2 separate regions of the Homo sapiens genome follow, and region 2 is linked to region 1. Evidence: promoter capture Hi-C in human tissues and cell types (Jung and others, 2019). All regions are on one chromosome and are shown on one strand. Each heading gives the region's core, a stretch centred on a gene start or on the middle of the fragment in contact. The rest is flanking DNA. Distances are from core to core; before and after follow the strand shown. Region 1 holds the start of RC3H1 (ring finger and CCCH-type domains 1). Region 2 has its middle 32 kb from the start of DARS2.

The links. The method cuts DNA at HindIII sites, captures the fragments that hold promoters and counts their contacts. A contact is called where the count stands out against the background at its distance.
Region 2: a contact is called between a fragment that was not itself captured here and the fragment with the promoter of RC3H1 in region 1, in 1 of the 25 tissues and cell types used here (aorta).

The regions. Positions count from the first base shown.
Region 1 is chr1:174,019,581-174,024,545 of GRCh38, forward strand. RC3H1 (ring finger and CCCH-type domains 1) reads right to left here and starts at 2,777. Exons shown (of 20, transcript NM_172071.4): 1 at 2,516-2,777. It overlaps RC3H1-DT (RC3H1 divergent transcript), which reads left to right and starts at 2,903. Exons shown (of 2, transcript NR_187284.1): 1 at 2,903-3,060; 2 at 3,203-3,610. RefSeq lists enhancers at 1,403-1,522, 1,587-2,126 and silencers at 2,333-2,652, 2,763-3,012. The HindIII fragment of the contact is 11,356 bases long and covers 1-4,965 here.
Region 2 is chr1:173,790,469-173,795,433 of GRCh38, forward strand. It overlaps the pseudogene RN7SKP160. Among named protein-coding and RNA genes, the nearest start is that of DARS2, 32 kb to the right of the region's middle. The HindIII fragment of the contact is 6,146 bases long and covers 1-4,965 here.

The DNA of each region.
Region 1 (4,965 bases), core at 1,527-4,026:
TACAAATTACCCTTTTTTATTTCTTCAAATAAATCAAGCATATATTAACTTTTAATATTACCAAGAAAATATAAATCTAATTCTTAAGCTCTGGTTCCAAAACTTCTTAGAAGTAAATTTTTATTACCTGAGAAAATGTGAACTTAAGTAATAAGTATTGATACTGAAGAAGGGACAGTTGAGTTTGTGTCAAAACTTAAAACTGTTTTGACACAAAATAAATAAAAACAATTCCCTAAATTTTTTTCCTATTGAACAGAAATACGGACCCAGACTAAGCCCATAAATTGCTGGGTCAATAACCAATCTGAAATACAAAACCTTACCACTTAAAAATATTTATTTTCAGGAAAATGATATTAAATATGAGGTAAATCTGCCCTTGACATAACACGGTGAGATTGTTTTCATAACACAGCACATGAACCACTTAAAACTTACAACCTATAAATTACTACAATTGTTCTAATAGGTTTAGGGCCATACATAAATTTAAGTATCATTATAACACAGACTTTACTTGGAATCTGTGCTGACCTAACAAAATTAGCACAGAAAAAAAAAAAAAATCACAGATTTGAGCACCTGAAAAACGGTGTCCTTTCTGAAATATCTGCAAAAAAGTCACAACATCAGGAGCCATAGAAAGTTGTTATTTCTCCATCATTCAAAAAATCAAAACATCTCCAACATTATTTATGCTAAGCATAAAATGAAGGTCAGTATTGATATTCATTCACTATACTTCAAATCCTAAACAAGAAAATTCAACCTTTATGTTTATTCAATTGCTAATCTATTCAGTGTCAATTGTTGTGGAAGAACTAAGAACTAGACTAGTGCTGCTTATAATGTTTTTAATTAGAACAGACTTGGACCAATTCTACTTAGAAATTTACCCTTAGAAGAGGTGAAAGATATTAACTGGCATCTTTTCAGCACAGGTCAGTGCTGAAAAGAACACAACCTATAACCCTTAGGCCTTGCAGTTGAATGTTAACAAGTGAAAAGCAATCTCCTTGGATGTATCCAAGCGATTTTAATATAAATTTCTGCATACCTAGGTAGAAAGTACTTTAGAAATAAATCTACCTTTTCCCTCACTTGTAAGAAAATGTGGTAGAAGCCTTGAAAAATTAAGTTTAAGGCTGAGCGAGGTGGCTCACGCCTGTAATCCAAGCACTTTGGGAGGCGGAGGAGGGCAGATGACTTGAGGTCAGGAGTTCCAGACCAGCCTGGCCAACATGGTGAAACCCCGTCTCTACTAAAAATACAAAAATCAGCCGGGCATGGTGGCGGGCGCCTGTAATCCCAGCTACTCCGGATGGTGAGGCAGGAGAATCGCTTGAATCCGGGAGGTGGAGGCTGTAGTGAGCCGAGATTGTGCCACTGCAATCCAGCCTGGGTGACAGAGCAAGACTCCGTCGCAAAACAAAACAAAAACGAAATCAAATTTCAAACTCAGAGAAAAGACTGGTCTTGAACAATTTCAGGAAAAATTACTGAAACACGAGACAAGGCACAAGAAGCTCTATGGCCGGAGATGAACCACCTGTCTCCTTTCGAAGTGCTTCCTGAGGTCCACTTTATGCTAGTTAATGTTGCTTCTTATACTGCATGTTAGTAATTCAAAACGCCTAGCTGGAATAAAAGTCCTCTTTAAACATTACAGTTTGTCTCCGCGTTGCCAGTGTTTGTTTCCAGTTTCATAGGCTATTCTGGTATGTCAAGAGTTGTGTTATTACTGTTCCAAAAGAGCCCTTGTTTCAATCCACTCTCACCTGGGATGCGGGCATAACTGATGTTTATAGAACTGATACTTAGAGATGTTTAGAGAGGCGCATCCCTTACCACTCCATCCTTTACCGATAACCACATTTTATATGTTTTTGTTGCATTTAAGTTTTTTGTTTTTTTTTTTTAAAGACACCTGCACACACACAATTTTCCCATCGCCAGCAGGGAGAAGACTACCAGGCTAGATCTCCAGGGACTTCAGGGAAACAGACACCGTGAAATCCACTTGGCCAAAGAAGGGGAGCGCTTCAGGGGCTGGGGGAGGAAGCAGCCCTGAGGTGCTGGGAGGCCGAGGCGGCGCCTGTTTACAGACGCCTTCGCCCTCCCCCACCCCCACAGACTAGGGGTCCAAAAAGCAGTTCCCGTGCGCATTCCCCGCCTGGCCCAGGCCCTGGGAGTACCACAGGAGCCAGGTAGCCCTTTCGCCCCCTCCCTCTCGTCCGAGCCTCCCTTCGTCCTCCTCTCGGCCTACCTACCCCGACAGGCCCTACAGGCGGCATGCAGAGGCCTGAGGCCTAAAGGACGCCGGCCACTGACAAGCCCCAGAACAGCCGGCGGGGGCCCTGAGGAGCCTGGGGCCGGCCGGGCTGCCGCTGCCGCGGAGGAGCAGAGGGCGGGCGAGGACAAACCCTTCCCGACCACAGCTGCCTATTGTTCCCGACTGAGGCCCCGGCCGCGGCAGCCCCGCTCCCCAAGTCGCCGCCCGCCGCTCGCTCACCGCGCTGGTCCGAGCAGCAGCTCCTCTCAGCTCCGAGTCCCCGCGGCCGTCGCCACCGCCGCGGCAGCCGCCGCCGCCGCCGAGGCCACCGTTGACTCTGATTCTGTCCCAGGCCGCCGGGCCACGGCTGCCGCCGCCACCGCCAGCACCGCCTCCGGCCTCCCACCTGCTGCTGCTGAGGCTGCTCCTGCAGCAGGGGCCATCTTGTTGCTCGGCCTCCTCTTCCTCCTCCTCGTCCTCCGCCGCCCAGTCGCTCGTTGTCCTCGTCCCCTTCCTCTTCCTCAGGCTCCGGCCCGCCCCGGAGACTGGGGCGGAGACGAGGGCGAGGATCCTCCCTCAGGAGGCGGGGCGGGCGGAGGGGAGGGGCGGGCGCGGGAGCAAAGCTCTGAGTCACCGGCCACCAACGCCCGGAGGGAGACCGGCGACGCTCTCCGCCGCGACCGAAAGTCTCACACGCCCTGAGCAGATGAACCGGTCCCTCGGTCCGGTCTGCCCTCCCGCACCGGCGCCTTTGGGCTCAGCGGGCCAGTGGCCAGATGGCGAGAGTAAATTGGGGGAATTTCTTTCGTTTCCATCGAACCCCACACTACGTCTACTCTTTCGGCTTTCTCAGCCGTTGTCCCCCAACTCTTGTTTCTTTTTCACGTCTTGTCCCCCACCCCATTTTTCTTCTTCCATATTATCCAGGTTCTGGATCTCATCAGCTTTGTCCTCGTCACCCCTCTGGGAGTTCAGCCTCCTAAGGCTGTGAAACAGCCCAAAAGGCCCGGACACGCTACTCCAAAACGTCTCTCCTGGGCTGTGTGAACAATAAGAGCTATTTGGGGACGACAGGAAAAGATATGGCCCATAGAAGGGCTCCTGAAATCTAACCTTGCGACTCTTTAAAAGTTTCTTGTCCCTTGTGGAAAAGGTGCCGTTTTGGTTTTGGGGAATGGGAGGTCCCTTCAGACAATTCATTTTAGCCAAACCCTCGCTTTTGAGAAGGGGAAGAAATGGGATTATTGTAACACCATACAGTACTAATTTCAAAATAAATCATCTAGAATAGAGGAGAGAGAGAGTCCCCAAATAAACAACCATTTAATACCTCTACTCGGCGCTATCACCTTTTTTGCTTCAGGATTTGACCAAGAGAGCAGAGATTATGTTTTTCTGTCCTTTCTTCACTGTTTACATCACAGTACCCCAAGAGAAGCACTTCTGCCTTTAACTTGATACATTGGAATCGCTATCACAGATAGTGTTTTTGTATTATTTTTAAGAAATATCACACACCTTCCTAAACTCTTGGCAGAGAAGAATTCTTTTTAGTTGTTAGCACCCTCCTGCTACTGAGATCTCAGCTTCTGTTTAGAAGACCTATTGTTGTCTTTCCACTGATTGGAATTTGCTGCCTCTGAACTGGGTTTAATCTGTAATCGTCTTTTCAGCCTACTAAATAGTAACCCCAGTCCTACAGAGAGTGAATTTCTAGCTACCACAGGGGGATTTAGGTTAGCATGTGCCAATCTAAAGGGATCTCTTAAAGCCTTTCCCTTCTCAGACCAGGCCTCTGTACCCTGCTAGGAAAAACAGATTAATCTGCTCCTCCTGCTTTTCCTCCTCCTCCCTTCTTCTCACTCCTAGGGAACCTTCCACAACAGAAGGTTTTAGCGACTGTTGCTAGGCAAACATGCCAACTTCCTTGTTTAGGTGAAGCGAGTAACTCAACTTCCATTGCAAGTAACCTAGATAATGTAATTTCTTTGAACTATTAATAGTTATACCACAGTTGGTAAGGCTCCTTAAAGGTTCCCTTAAGCAGTATGATTTTTACGTTGTTTATTTTTATCTCGTCAATATTTCAATTAAAAATACGTTAAAGGACAGATAGATGCAGTGGCTCACGCCTGTAATCCCAACATTTTAGGAGGCTGAGGGGGGCGGATCACCTGAGGTCCGGAGCCTGACCAACGTGGAGAAACCCCATCTCTACTAAAAATACAAAAATTAGCCAGGTGTGGTGGCGTGCACCTATAGTCCTAGCTACTCGGGAGGCTGAGGCAGGAGAATCACTTGAACCTGGGAGGTGGAGGTTGTAGTGAGCCGAGATCACGCCATTGCACTCCAGTCTGGGCAAAAAGAGCTAAACTCTGTCTCAAAAAAAAAAAAAAAAAAAAAAAAAAAGTTAAAAATGGCGGCGCTTCCCCAAACCCAAATTCATTTTAGTGATATAAAGATGCATTTGACAGAAAAAGAAGAGCAGCTTTGAAGAAAACACTTATGCTTACAATAAAAAATAAAAAACTAATCTGTGAGAAGTCATATGTTTTCAACTCCCCAGTCAGACTAGAAGTGTAAGATACAGGGGATAAGGCCGGGAGCGGTGGCTCACGCTTGTAATCCCAGCACTTTGGGAGGCCGAGGCAGGCAGATCACGAGGTCAGGAGATGCAGACTATTCTGGCC
Region 2 (4,965 bases), core at 1,443-3,942, 230 kb before region 1:
TTTTAAAAATGATAGTCTGGGCCAGGCACGGTGGCTGATGTCTGTAATCCCAGCACCTTGGGAGGCCAAGGTGGGCAGATGTACTTGAGGTCAGGAGTTTGAGACCAGCCTGGCCAAAATGGCAAAACCCTGTCTCTACTAAATATACAAAAATTAGCTGGGCGTGGTGGTGCACGCCTGTTAGCTCCTTGGGAAGCTGAGGCAGAAGAATCCCTTGAACCTGGGACACGGAGGCTGCAGTGAGACGAAATCATGCCACTGCACTCCAACCTGGGTGACAGAGTGAGACTCAGTCTCAAAAAAAAAAAAAAAGCACATAAATAGGTTTATTTTTGATGCACTAATTTTTTTAAATTTCTCAATTTTAATTTCTAATATGGTAAATCACTAGATGTAATGCATGTAAACAGAAGCTCTTTGTGTCCTCAAGTTTTTGAGACTTTAAAGGGATCTCAAGGCAAAAATGTTTGAGAACTGCTGCTCTAAATCTTCCAGTTTACAGGAAATACAAAGGAACAGAGGAATGTGTTAACTTCATAGCAATTCAATGAGCAGAGTTCAAAAGTGCGAAACTTTACAAGACAAATAACTTTGCTTCTCCAAAAATTGAATTGCAAGGAAAGAAAGTGGAGAGGGAGAAACTGACAGAGTAAAAGGAATTTAAGACTCATATCATCAGCCTAGAGCGGTGGCTCATACCTATTAATAAAATCCCCCAGCACTTTGAGAGGGCAAGGCGGGAGAATCGCTTTAACCCAGGAATTCAAGACCAATTTAGGCAAATAAGAGAGACCGTCTTTACAAAAAACTACATATATATATAAAATTTATATATATAAAATATAAAATGTATATACTATATAATTATATATTAAAATTATATATTATATATAAATTATGTTATATATAAATTTTAATTATATATATATATATATAAAAGCTGGGTGTGTTGGCACATGCCTCTGGTCCCAGATACTTGGGAGATTGAGGTGGGAGGATTACTTGGGCCAGTGCATGATCACACCACTGCACTACAGCCTCATTGACAGAGCAAGACCCTGTCTCGAAAAAAGCCAGCCAGATATGAGGGCGATCTGACTGTGACATCTGTCACTCTATTGATCGCCAGGGTTGATTCGGCTGATCTGGCTAGCTAGGCAGGAGTCCCCTTCCTCCCTCACCACTCCATGTGCTTCCCTCTTGAAGCTGTGCACACTCAGTGGAAGAGGACAGCCATCCCCAATAGAGGAAGGCCAGTCTGCAGTCAAGGGTATACAAGTAGCTGCATTCCCCTACTAGAACCTCCAAACAAGCTCTCAAGGTTCATTTGTAAGAGAACGTAGGGTTCTTTGAAGTCAAGCTTCCAAGACTCCAGACACATCCAAGTGAGTTGCTGCATGTGGCAGTCTGCCTTTCTTTAAAACAAACAAACAAAACCACCAAACTTCAGGTAATAAGGCAGGTAATGTTTTACATAATGCATCTCAGTATAAAACATGCAACAATTGAATTATTTACATAGCCCAGCAGAAGCGATTCAATAGTCTGCCCTGATGTGGACTGTAAGAATGATTAGAAAAGAAGTTAAGCCTGAGAAAGGTTTGAAAGAGAGTAATAGTTTTGCTAAGTGGACAAGAGTGGAAAGGACATTCCAGGCAGAGCAGCATGTGTAAGATATACAGAAGGAAGGCAGTGAGACAGCATGGGCTGTTCAGGGAAATCAAAGCAGTCTGCTTTCAGGAGAATAAAGTAAAAAAAGCCTGTGTCCAGAAATAAGACAGGAGAACCAGGTATCATCATAAGGGCCTCATATCCCAGTACTTTTCTCTCAGCTTTCTTTTCTGATGTTAATTCTAGTAAGTTCTGTGAGGGTGTACACGGTCAGGCTCTAAGAGGCCCCCAGTGATCCCTGCATTCTGGTATTCACACCCTTGTGTAATCCTCTCCCAAAATGCACCAGGGTTGGTCTGGTCTGTGTGCCTAATAGCGATGCTAGGAACTCTGGTGGGGAATGTTGATAATGGGTGAGGCTATGCATTTGTAGAGAAAAAGGGTATATGGGAAATCTCTGTAAACATCCACTGAATTTTGTTGTGAACCTAAAACTGCTCTAAAAAATAAACTCTATTAAAAAGTATAGGGGGGTGGTATGTCACTTCCAAAATTAGGCTTAAAAAGAATCTAGCTTTTGTCTTGAGTGTTTTTCTCTCATCTTTCACACTCTGGGAAATGCAAATACATAAAAGAATATAAGAAACCCATGAACCTCCATATACCAACCATCCAGCTTCAAAAATTAACAGATTTTGTAAATTTTGTTTTATCTGTCTCCTCCCACTCTTACTTCTCCTCTCCATCACCACTGAAGTATTTTAAAGCAGATCCCAGCCATCACCTTAAAGTCATGCACTTCATTCATAACAACGTTTTGGTCATTGACAGACCACATATATGACAGTGGTCTCATAAGATTATAATACTGTGTTTTTACAGTGCCTTTTCTATGTTTAGATATGTTTAGATACACAAATCCTTACCATTGTGTTGCCTACAGTATTCAGTACAGTAAGTAATACATTGTACAAGTTTGTAGCCTAGGAGCAACAGGCTATCCCATATAGCCTAGGTATATGGTAGGCTATACCATCTAGATTTATGTAAGTACACTCCGTGATGTTTATACAAAGATGAAATCACCTAAAGACATATTTCTCAGAACATACCCCTGTCGTTAAGTGATGCATGACTGTATTTCACCCACATTTGAGTATTTAACAGATAAGGTCTAACTATAACAACATTATCACACTTGATAAAATAAACATTCCTTAATATCATCTAATACCCAATCAATGTTAAAATTCCCCTAGTTACCACTTAATTTGTTTACTATTATACTTTGAAGTTTTCTTTTTTTCCTGTCCCTTCTTTTGCTCACTTGGTCAAATTTCTATTTCGTTCCTTTGCCCTTTAATTTTAGAAATTCTTCTATAGTTTCTATTCTATTTGGTGTGTGTATCTGCACTGCAACAGATATAGTTAAACGTATTTCTCTACGAAGATACTCACATTAAGAGGCTGTTATCCATCCTGGCTACCACGGTGAAACCCCGTCTCTACTAAAAATACAAAAAAAAAAAATTAGCCGGACATAGTGGCGGGCGCCTGTAGTCCCAGCTACTCAGGAGGCTGAGGCAGGAGAATGGCGTGAATCCAGGAGGTAGAGCTCGCAGTGAGCCAAGATCACGCCACTGCACTCCAGCCTGGGCGACAGAGGAAGACTCCGTCTCAAAAAAAAAAAAAAAAAAAAAGAGGCTGTTAGAAATACTTCATAGGTGCTCTATAGCACCCAGTCATAACATACGTGATACCTAGACAGCCCGTGTTTAGAGATACTAACAGTGGGTAGTGGCCTCGGGTGTTATCAGCTAGCTCCATTATAAAATACTCCATCAATCTTTCACCTAAGGGTTTAAGCAGATACTAATGATTGATGCTTACATCTATTATTTCACTGAGAGTTATAAATGATGCCTTCTCATTCCTTTGCATTTATCAGCTGAAATATATCTAAAAAACTTACCTTGATCAGCTATTTGATTATCTTGAAATATAATTTATACTAGAAAGTAGAAAATGTTTGCTTCTCCCCTTTACCAATTTTCAGAACTTGATTCTGCAGCAACCTCCAAAAGTAACACCAATTTCTAAAATTTTGTTTAGTATTAGTATGAGCTCATAAATTATTTTTACTTTAATATTGATATAAATAAATTTTTATATATTCAATCAATTACACTTTTTCCTTTTGATATGTGAATTGTCTCACCTTTGGCAAGTAGGGTCCCCCTTCATTTTGGCTCCTAGCCTTTTGACACAACTGTTGATAGCTATCTTGCTTTTCTGATATATGAAAGGTTATTTTTATACATTTCTTGTCCCAAACCTGAAATCAGCCCTTCCTCAAGAAGTTTTAGCTCCTTTTAGTGGGAAATACTTATAGAACATAATCTGTGTGTTAGTAATGTTCATTGTTAATGGCTTTTTACTGCTTCCGGGCCTCTCCAGTAAACAAAGCTATGTGTTTTTTAGCAAATCATGAATAACCTCAGTAGATGCCGAAAAAAAATTTTGACAAAGTGCAACACCTATTCATAATAAAACCCCTCAACAAACTAGGAATAGAAAGGATCATTCTTAACTTGATAAATGACATCTATGAAAAAACCTACAGCCAACATCATATTTAATTGTAAAAGACATGATGCTTTCCTACTAAAAACAAGACGAAAATGTATATTCTTACCAGTTCTATTCACCATTGTACTGGAGATTCTAGCCAAGGCAATTCAGCAAGAAAAAGAAACAAAAGATTAAAAATTAAGAAATAAAACTGTCTTTATTCACAGATGATATGAATTTTTTATGTAGAAAATCCTAAAGAATTCAGTGAAAAAAAACTACTAAAATAAGCTCAGCAAAGTCACAGGATACAAGAGCAATATACAAAATCACTTGTATTTCTATATGCTAGCAACAAACAATTTGAAAATGAAATTAAGAAAACAATTCCATTCTCAATAGATCTAAAATAATAAAATATTTAAAGATTAAATAAATGGAAAAACATCCTGCTCATAGATTAGAAGATTTACTATCATTATGGCAACACTCCCCAAACTGCCCTATGAATTCAACACAATCATTATCAAAATCCCAGGAAGTTTTTTTTTTTTTTGGCAACAATTGACAAGCTGATCCTAAAATTCTTATGGAAATACAAAAGACGCAGCCAAATAACCTTGGGAAAAAAACAAAGTTGAAGGTCTCACACTTCCTGATTTCAAAACTCACTACAAAGCTATAGTAATTGAGACAGTGTCGTACTGGCATAAGAAGTGACAAGTAGATCAATGAAATAGAAAGTCCAGAAATAAACCCAAACATCCATGAAATACTGATTTT